Regions from separate parts of the Homo sapiens genome. Here region 1 is linked to region 2. Evidence: promoter capture Hi-C in human tissues and cell types (Jung and others, 2019). All regions are on one chromosome and are shown on one strand. The core of a region is centred on a gene start or on the middle of the fragment in contact, and the rest is flanking DNA. Distances in the headings are between cores, read along the strand shown. Region 1 overlaps RNF10 (ring finger protein 10). Region 2 holds the start of SPPL3 (signal peptide peptidase like 3).

Region 1 (5,178 bases), core at 1,549-4,048, 360 kb before region 2:
AACACATATGTGCCTTGAGGCAGCATTCTTTTTTTTTTGTTTAATGTGTGTGTTAGAAAGCTTGACCATGTTTGCCACCGCCAGTGTCTGCTTTTCTGGCTTCTGCTGTGCGTGTTCGTTTAGCAAGGAAGGATGGGCTTTGTAGCCAAATCCATGCTTCTTCACTAGCCATAATCCACTGCTTGCATTTAGGAACAAATTAAAAGGCAGGATATGTGGAGATTAAAAGGTTAGGAAACTGGATATTGGCTGATTTTTAAAGTTGAAACTAAGCTGCCTTAGGAACGTAACAGCTAAGACCAGTGCTACTACAGCAGATACTCAGGAGCTCTGATGCAGTGACTTCACGATGAGATGGTTGCTCTAACAAAAGGGTACACTCAAGCTCCGCATAATCCCATAAAAAGATTTCTGCAGTATCTCATAAGCTGAACACTTCATATACTTGATTCTGCTGGGAATCATTGAAAGGACCTCTTGAATTACAGAGTACTGAGTTGAGGGGAAAACAAGCGTAAGGTGAAAAGATAGTTTATCTTTTGTCAAGGTGAAAAGAGCAAGAGTTTTCAGTATTCAAATATTTAAGTCACTTTTTTTCTCCCCCTTTTCTACCTCGTGGAAGAAAGCCCTTTGGTTTCTATTCTGTAAACTGTCATTAATGGCCATTTGCTTCCTAGCTACATGATTAATTTCTTTGAGATTTTGTTCCAGTGGCTGGCTTAAATTTGCCCTTCATTTGTACACAGGAAATATGTAAATTTGGCTACCAGGATTTTCTTGATCTTTCCGGCTAGAGTCGCATACCACAGTTTCTTTGCCTGGGCTAATTGCCTGAACATTTATATAACATTCCTTTTCTTGATTATATTCCTACAGCTTCATTCCAGTAGTGTTAATAGGTATTTCTGAGAACATGCAGCAGTAAATATCCTGTGAATATAGCTCAGAGGAGAGAAGGTGGGTTAGAAAGTGGGGAAAGTCATTTAGAGGGAGCAAAGAAAGAGAGGCAAGAGAGAAGGTAGGCCGTTTATGGGCAGGCAGTGGACTCTGGCCAGGAACCAGGCTCTTGTCCCATCCCCCTGGGCCGATAGAACTGCCAGGGAGGTTAAGGGAAGGTCAGGTATTATGAGGCAGTTATTTTGAGGTTGGTGGTATGAAGCACTGCCCTGGCATTCTTCCTGTTATTCTGGTACCAGAAACCAGGTTACTAGTGGTAATCTGCCTTGAAGAATGCCTCTGAGCTGTAAATGGACCTGGAGATTTTAATGGCTTTGAAAATTGAGGTGATTTGAAGCCTTCAGTAAAACCACTTAGAGAAATTAAAAGAATTTCAGGGCCCGTTGGCTGGATTCCTTGGTTTATATGGCTTCATTGGAAGTCTAGTGGGTGCTCTTGACAGGAACGCTTTGGATTTATTAATGATAGGCTTTCAAATCATAGTAAAACTGTGTGTCAGCCACTATGGTAGGCATTTTACAGAAGTTTTCTTTCTTAATCCTCATGATTCTATGAGGAAGTATGGTAGAATATTAGTCCTGTTTCACAGAAAAGAAAATAGAGGCTTAGCAGTGTTAAGAGTGATTTGTCCAAGTAAATTTTTATGAAGTCCTAGGCGGTATTTTTCAATAAGCTTTGTATAATCACACTTAGCAAGCAGATAACTTACTGGCATGTGCATCATTCCTGATACCACCTCTCTCTTCCTTTCATTCAGAATTACTAATTTCAGCTGGATTCAATTTGTTGTCAGTTGATTCTGTAGTAAGGCCATATGTTGCCCCTCTGGAGGTGCTTGTCAACTACTCTGGATGATGGGTAAGCAACTTGCTTGTGATTACAGCATGAATCAGCAGCAGAAACTTGCTGACTGGTATTCTGACCTCTAGGCCGAGCCACCTGTTAGAACTAGAGCTAGAAATGAAGATGCCAAGTAATTTAACTGTGAAAAACTTGTGGCCCTTAATTTGGTAATGGGGGGAGGCTGAGATATACCTACTGCTACTTGGTGGAGACCTTTCCATTAGGGAAATGTGGAACAACTGAGAAGCTGGGTTAAGTTTTTAAGTCATTTATTTGTCGACTCTGGAGCCTGAGTTTAGTGGTCTTGTCCATTTTGGAATGTGTCTTGACAGTAGTTCTTGGCAGTTGTTCTCAGTGGTGGCTGTGCATCAGAATCTCCTCAGGAACTTTTTTTTTTCCCTCAAGACAGTCTTGCTCTGTCACCCAGGCTGGAGTTCAGTGGCGCGATCTCAGCTCACTTTAACCTCTGCCTTCCCGGTTTAAGCAATTCTTCTGCCTCAGCCTCCTGAGTAGCTGGATTGCAGGTGTCCACCACCACACCGGCCTAATTTTTGTATTTTTAGTAGAGATGGGTTTCGCCATGTTGGCCAGGCTGGTCTCAAACTCCTGACCTCATGAGGAACTTAAAAAAAAAAAAAATAGGGGTGTGTGGGGCCCCTTCCTAGGAATTTATTATCTTTTTTTTTTTTGTAGAGATGGGGGTCTCACCATGTTGCCCAGGCTGGTCTCAAATTCCTGGCTTCAAATGATCCTCCCACCTTAGCCTCCCAAAGTGCTGGGGTTACAGGCATAAGCCACTGTGCCTGGCCTTTTTCTGATTCTTTAAGCCTAGATTGAACCCGTGGGTCCTGGGCATTCATAATTTAAAAAGTCTGTGCAAGTGATTCTGGTGTGCAGCCAGGATTGAGAACCACCACTCTGAGATTTAAAACTTCACCCATAGTTCCTTCTCCCAGGAACTTGATATTTTTTGTTTTCCAAAATCTAAAGTGGATCATCTTATCACTCCTGTTCTACCCTCGAGTTTTTCCCATGTATATCCTGGCAAGTTGTCCACAAAACATTTCAAAAATAATACTCTGAATTTTATCTCTGGGTCCCAGGCCTGATGGTACCTTCAACCTTTAGCTGCCTTTTGCCTGGGTCTAGAGATAAGAGCCAGTCTCTCACTTGACATATCTGTCTTCATACCCTTAGGTAACTGGAAGACGAGAAACGAGTTGATTTTGGCAACTAAAATCACTAATCATGATGTGGTCAGTTGTTATGTGTTTTGGAAATGAGCAGTTTACTGTCTTATCAGTGAGCATTTCTGTAAGCATTATGAAACTGTTTCCTTGCCAGTGTGGTAATAAGTGAAGAAATGAAGACAGCCTTCTTGCTGAGTGCCAGTTTACTTTCTTTTTTTTTTTTTTTTTGAGACAGAGTTTTGCTCTTGTTGCCCAGGCTGGAGTGTAGTGGTGCAGTCTCGGCCTTGCCGCAACCTCCACCTCCCGGGTTCAAGCTATTCTCCTGCCTCAGCCCCCGGAGTAGCTGGGATTACAGGCATGCGCCACCATGCCCAGCTAATTTTTTGTATTTTTAGTAGAGACGGGGTTTCTCCATGTTGGTCAGGCTGGTCTCGAACTCCCGACCTCAGGTGATCCGCCCGCCTCGGCCTCCCAAAGCATTGGGATTATAGGCATGAGCCACCGTGTCTGGCCATTTTACTTTCTTAATAAGCCCTTGCCATGTAGAATCTGGCTTTACCTAAATCTATGCAAACCGTGAGGTGCATCTTGAAAGCAGCAGTTAGGGTCAAACAGGTAGGGTCCAGGATCATCTGAAACAGTCTTGGATAATGAGGTTGGAGGATATGTGTTTTCTTTATATACCTATCCTCGTAGAATCTCCTTTGCTTGAGGTGATGTGAAATGGAGTTAAGGAAAGCAAAGCAAGAGAATGTGGCTGAGTTAGCTGGGGTTCTGCATCCCCTGAGTTTTCCTTTTTTTTTTTTTTTGAGACGGAGTCTCACTCTGTCGCCCAGACTGGAATGCAGTGGCACGATCTCCGCTCACTGCTAGCCCCGCCTCCCGGGTTCACGCCATTCTCCTGCCTCAGCCTCCCGAGCAGCTGGGACTACAGGCGCCCGCCACCAAGCCTGGCTAATTTTTTGTATTTTTAGTAGAGATGGGGTTTCACCATGTTAGCCAGGATGGTCTCTATCTCCTGACTTCGTGATCCACCTGCCTTGGCCTCCCAAAGTGCTGGGATTACAAGCATGAGCCATCGTGCCTGGCTTTTTTTTTTTTAGAGACAAGCTCTCGCTCTGTCACTTAGGCTGGCATGCAGTGGTGCAAACATAACTGACTGAAACCTTGAACTCCTTGGCTTAAGAGATCCTTGAACTCTTGAACCACTGTGCCTGGTTTATCTTTTTCTTTTTTTTTTTGAGATGGAGTCTCACTGTGTCTCCCAGGCTGGAGTGCAGTGGTGCAATCTTGGCTCACTGCAAGCCCCGCCTCCCAGGTTCACACCGTTCTCCTGCCTCAGCCTCCTGAGTAGCTGGGACTACAGGCTCCCGCCACCACGCCTGGTTAATTTTTTGTATTTTTAGTAGAGACAGGGTTTCACCATGTTAGCCAGGATGGTCTTGATCTCCTGACCTCGTGATCCACCCGCCTCAGCATCCCAAAGTGCTGGGATTACAGGCGTGAGCCACCGTGCCTGGCCTTTTTCTTTTTTTGAGACAGAGGCTCACTCTGTAGCCCAGGGTGGAGAGCAGTGGTGCCATCATAGCACACCGCAGCCTCAACCTTGGCTTAAGCAATCCTTCCAACTCAGCCTCTCAGCTAGGACTGCAGGTGTGTGCCACCACATTGGGCTAATTTTTAAATTTTTTGTAGAGATGGGGTCTTGCTATGTTGCCCAGGCTGGTCGCAAACTCGTGGACTCAAGTGATCCTCTTGCTTTGGCTTCCCAAAGTGTTGAGACAACCGGCATGAGCCACCAAGTCCAGCGCTGAAACTTTGCTTTCTAATTGTTACTACTAGTGCCATGTTTGACACTAACTGTTGCTAACTGAAGTAATAGGTAAAAGTTTAGTTTTTAAGTTCTAACTTTATTTATTTGTTTTTTGAGACAGAGTCTCACTCTGCTGCCCAGGCTGGAGTGCAGTGGCGTGATTTCAGCTCACTGCAACCTCTGCCTCCCGGGTTCAAATGATTCTCATGCCTTAGCCTCCCAAGTAGCTGGGATTACAGGCGTGTGGCACCACACCTGGCTAATGTTTGTATTTCTAGTAAAGATGGGGCTTCACCATGTTGGCCAGGCTGGTCTCGAACTTCTGGCCTCATGTGATCTGCCTGCCTTGGCCTCCCAAAGTGCTGGGATTACAGG
Region 2 (4,904 bases), core at 1,339-3,838:
AGGAAGTATTTTAGTAGAATAAATTTGTAAATTGTCAAACTTCACAAAGTAATCCCTCCTTAATAGAGCCAACTAATGTCAGAGAGAGGTCGTGTGTGTCCAACCTACCTAGTAAAACATTTTCATTTTCCCCATTTCTTGACCACTGAGTTTTCTATTCTTTCAACCATCCAGGGCCTCTGTACAGCACAGTAAAAACAGCAAAGCAGCCATTAGGACTCTCAGGGCCACAGCCATTAGGGCCAGAGTATGAGAAGCTCAAGATGAGTAACCACAAGGCATGACAGAAACACCTTTACCTTCATTTCTTACTCTGTCCAGAAGGAAGCTGAAATTGTAATCTTGTGTTCCCTACGACCTGCTACTGAAAGGCAGCTGTCACGCAAAACTATGAAATTAGCTTAAACCTCTTTTTAGAGCACGTGTTCACCAAGATTTTAATTCTTCCTTTAGGGTTACTTTGTCTCTCAGTTACCTTCTTCTTGAGATTGCACATACATCAATGAAGTTCTCTTAAGAATTATCATCTTCAATCCCCAACTCCCTTTCTCTTATGTGAAGACTCAATGAGTTACTGACTTATAACCTCTAACACTATAAATAATCCACTCAAAGTCTTCTACCTAAAACCATTCCTTATTTTCTGATATTACCCATTTCTTAGATGTTTCTCTAGGATAATTATAATTAATGTAGTAAGATCTGTGGCACTTCACAGTTTGCCAAGTGCTTTCTAAATGTACTCACTTAATCCTTACAGGCTGTGGAAAAGGTAATTCCCTCTATTTTATAGGTAAGGAAAAAGGACCGAAGAACTCACTACCATGTCGTATCAACAAAGCAAGTTGGTGGCAAACCGGACCTCCGAAATAGGTCTTCCAACTCCACACGGCATGCTCGTCCCATTCTATTATGCTCTTTTCTAAGAAGGGAATGTCTACAGTTCTGTCCCAAACCACATTTGCTTCAAGAGTAAACCATCTTCAAACCATTTCTCTAAATTGCAATCAGGTCCCCCACTCCTACGATCATGCCATTTCTTGCTTCCTCACTCTCCAGCTATGACTTCCTTCTCACTACCCGATTTCCACTCTTCATGGATACTGCCATCATTCCTTCAACCCGTCCTGCAAATATCCCACCTCTACATGCTAAAGGGAGACCCCTCATGTTCCTTCCCCCAAACCCTGGCACTCCCTTCTCCGGATATGTAGGTTGTCACCCCATAAACTACACAGTAGCTTCTCGCTTCTCGGCCCTTAACGAGCTACTTACTAACTTTAAAAGCCCCACAGAAATGAACTTAACTTGCAGGTCCTCCACCTCCACACTTGGCCCTGGGCGCCATTCCTCTGAAAATAATAGTACCAACCCTTACAAAGACTCTGCCCATGCCCCACTGTCACCAACGAATTCCTTTTCCAGAAGGAAAAGGAAACAGGTTCTTCAGGCTCCTCTTCCAACCTCTTCACCAGTGACTCCCCTCCAAGGTTCGTGGACTCTACCCCCGCAGTTTTCCTCCCCTCACTCCCGGGCCTCTGCCCACCTCACCAACTCTCCCTGCGCTCCCTGTCCCAGAGCCAAGCGGCGGCCGCTCCACTCTCCCAACTTAGAAGTTCTGCCTCTATCACCTGTTCTCACTAGAGCTTCCTCTCAGCCCAGCGGCCCACCTTTGCCCTGGCCTGCCTCTCTCCACCCCTTCGAGTCCTCCTGCCCAGGAAACACCCCCACGAGTCAGTTCCGGGGTGCCTGTCGGATTCAACTTCCCATCCGTGGGATTCCCACCCCCGGGGTCATGCTCCCCTTCTCCATCACCTGCTCCGCCCATAGCCAGATGACATCCGCCGCTGCCTCCTCCTCCATTCCCCTTCTCGGACGCCAGGTCCCCGGCCACTCACCGCCCTCCGTGCGCGCCAGCCGCCCCCTCCGGTGGGGAAGAGGGGGGCGTGCACCCCAACCCGCGCCCCCCCCCCACGACACGCACCTGTTCTTCCTCCTCTTCCCCTCGGCGGGCCGCGCCGGCGCCCCGACCCCCACCCTTGCCGCCTCCCGGCCTCCCGGAGCCCCGCACTCACCACGAGTAGGTCTGCTCCGCCATGGCGCTGCCTCTCGTGGGCTCCGCTGCAGGCTGTGGCCGGGCCCGGCGGCGGCGGGCTCGCTCGGGCCGTAGCTGAAGGCGCGGCCGGGGTCCGGTGCTTGCTTGCTTGCTCGCTCGCTGGCTCGCTGGCTGCACGGCGGGCCGGGAAGGCGGCTGGCGGGGAGAGGCCGGGCTCCGAAGCGGCCCCGCTCCCTGGGCCCCGGGGCGGGGCGGGCTCCGCTCTCGGCCTCCCTCACCCGCGGCGGCGGCGGCGGCTCCGCTGCAGCTCCAAACCCAACATGGCGGCGGCGGCGGCGCGGAGAACAAGGGGGCCCTGGGGCGGGCGAACGGCAAGACGGGCCCGCGCTCACTGCGCGCGGGGCCGCGGGAGCGCCGCGCTCGGGCGGCGGCGGCGGCGGCCGGGGGACATGGCCGGCGGGCGGAGGCGGCGGCGACTGAGGGGGGCGCTAGGCGATGAGGCGAGGCCACTCGATCACACCCGCCGAGGGGAGGAGGGGCGGGGGCGGGGGCGAGCCTTGGCCCCGCGCGGGTCACGTGCCCAAAACACGCTCACGTGATGCGCGCCCCGCCCCTCGAGCCGGGCCCATGCGCAGAGACGTCGGCTCCTGGGTTCTAGGCGGCTGCTGCTCGCACAGCCAGAGCAGTTGGGCCGCCTCCCGCTGCCTGGTGCCGCCCCCCTCCCCACGCGGAGATGTCGCCTCGGGTACCCTCTTCCGCCCCTCTCCGAGGGGCTGCTGCACCAGCCAATCGGGAACCCCGATGCGCGTCTGTTGGCTGCCACTCAGCTGTCAACCGTCAGTCAACAGTCTGCTGGCCACGGGCCCCCCAACTGTCAGTCAACCTGTCAGTCAACAGGCAGAGGGCTGCATTCCTTCGTTCGTATGTTCCTTGGTTCATTCATTCAGGTAGCAAATATTCCAGGCAGCCAACCTTTATTGCGCCCAGGCCCGGCACCAAGTCGAATACCCCACGCTTGCCTTCACAGAATCAATCAACAGATATTTGTTGGGTGCCAACCATGTGTCAACTCACTCTGCCTTCCTAGAGCTTACATTCTAAAGGAAGAGACATAGTCCAAGCCCACAAATAAGATAATTTCAGATGCTGCTAAGTTTTACAAAAACACATTTTGTAACACAAGGTGAGGGGACAGAGAGTGAGCAGAGGTGTGGGTTACTTTAGATAGGGTGGTCAAGGAAGGCCTCGCTTAGGAGGTGACATTTGAGCTGATATTGAATGATGACAGAGAGCTGGCCTTGCAAAGATCCACAGGAAAAGAGTTCCTGGCAGAGGGAACAGCAAGGGCAGAAGGCTCAGGAAACCGTCCATTTGGAGGTCTGGAAACCGGCACAGAAATAAACACGGTAGAGCTAGACCAGAGACCAACAAAGTGAATCTGGAGCTTAGATGGAGAGAGAAGAGAGAGATTAATTGAGGCCCCAGGTACTGCGGAATGCTTCCCCAGGAGTGGATGAGGCCGTCTGAAAGGGTGAGAGGCTTATCAAAGAAAAGTCATTCTTTTGGCCGGGCGCGGTGGCTCACGCCTGTAGTCCCAGCACTTTGGGAGGCCGAGGTGGGTGGATCATGAGGTCAGGAGATCGGGACCATCCTGGTTAACACGGTGAAACCCTGTCTCTACTAAAAATACAAAAAATTAGCCGGGCGTGGTGGTGGACGCCTGTAATCCCAGCTACTCAGGAGGTTGAGGCAGGAGAATGGCGTGAACCCCGGAGGCAGAGCTTGCAGTGAGCCGAGATTGCGCCACTGCACTCCAGCCTGGGCAACAGCGAGACTCTGTCTCAAAAAAAAAAAAAGAAAAAGAAAAAGAAAAAGAAAAAAAAAAAAGAAAAGGCATTCTAGAAAGAAAGAATGGCATGAAGTAAGGCCCAATTCCTGGTGAGCTTGAATCCGAGAGTGGGATGGGTGATTTGTGCTGGAGTGTTGAGAAAATATACTGAGAAGGTGCACTGAGGCCAGACTTTGAGGGCCCAGCTAAGCCTCCTTGCCAGTTACTGTGTTCATGAATAAAAATGATTAACCAGTGCAGCTTCAGAATTTAGAAACATGCCTGGGCAACAGATACACTAACCCTCCTGGACACCCCTCCACCCCCACCCTTCACCCCCCTGTTTCTCTGCAGAAGGCAAAACTCACACACCTGAAACCAACGTACTCAAGCTTCTCTGCAGCTTGCCCAACTTTAGGCCAGAATTTAGCTCTGCTCCAGTTTCCCAGGGCCTGCCCAGGCTTACAGGGAACACCACACCCTGAATCTATCTCCAAATGGATCAGTTGGCCATTGCCCATACATCTGCCGCTTGCCTGTTCCCCAAGGGAAACCCTTTAAAGAGAAAGCCAAGTACACTTTCCCTTCAGAAGCAAAGCTCTCCTTCCTTATTCCCCCACTGCCAGGTGCCAGGACCAGTTAGGTTCCAAGTGTTTCCTCCAAAGCTCTATCAGAGAGCCCTGGGAAAAGGCTCACTGATGAGATTGAGGTCCAGGCCGGGCGCGATGGCTCACGCCTGTAATCCCAGCACTTTGGGAGGCCAAGGCAGGTGGATCATGAGGTCAAGAGGTCGTGACTATCCTGGCCAACATGGTGAAACCCCATCTCTACTAAAAATACAAACATTCGCTGGACGTGGTGACCCATGCCTATAGTCCCAGCTACTTGGGAGGCCTGAGGCAGTAGAATCGCTTGAACCGGGGAGTGGAGGTTGCAGTGGACCTAGATCACGCCACTGCACTCCAGCCTGGCGACAGAGTGAGACTCCGTCTCAAAAAAAAAAAAAAAAAAAAAAGATCG

Evidence for each region. The method cuts DNA at HindIII sites, captures the fragments that hold promoters and counts their contacts. A contact is called where the count stands out against the background at its distance.
Region 1: a fragment that was not itself captured here is called in contact with the fragment with the promoter of SPPL3 in region 2 in 1 of the 25 tissues and cell types used here (dorsolateral prefrontal cortex).

What each region holds. Positions count from the first base shown.
Region 1 is chr12:120,537,654-120,542,831 of GRCh38, forward strand. The region is part of intron 1 of RNF10 (ring finger protein 10); the gene reads left to right. Among named protein-coding and RNA genes, the nearest start is that of RNF10, 5.9 kb to the left of the region's middle. The HindIII fragment of the contact is 6,302 bases long and covers 1-5,178 here.
Region 2 is chr12:120,901,770-120,906,673 of GRCh38, forward strand. It overlaps SPPL3 (signal peptide peptidase like 3), which reads right to left and starts at 2,589. Exons shown (of 11, transcript NM_139015.5): 1 at 2,076-2,589. The coding sequence starts at 2,098. It overlaps XLOC_009911 (a long non-coding RNA gene), which reads left to right and starts at 2,926. Exons shown (of 2, transcript NR_131215.1): 1 at 2,926-3,003. RefSeq lists silencers at 1,939-1,988, 2,129-2,348, 2,429-2,788. The HindIII fragment of the contact is 15,749 bases long and covers 1-4,904 here.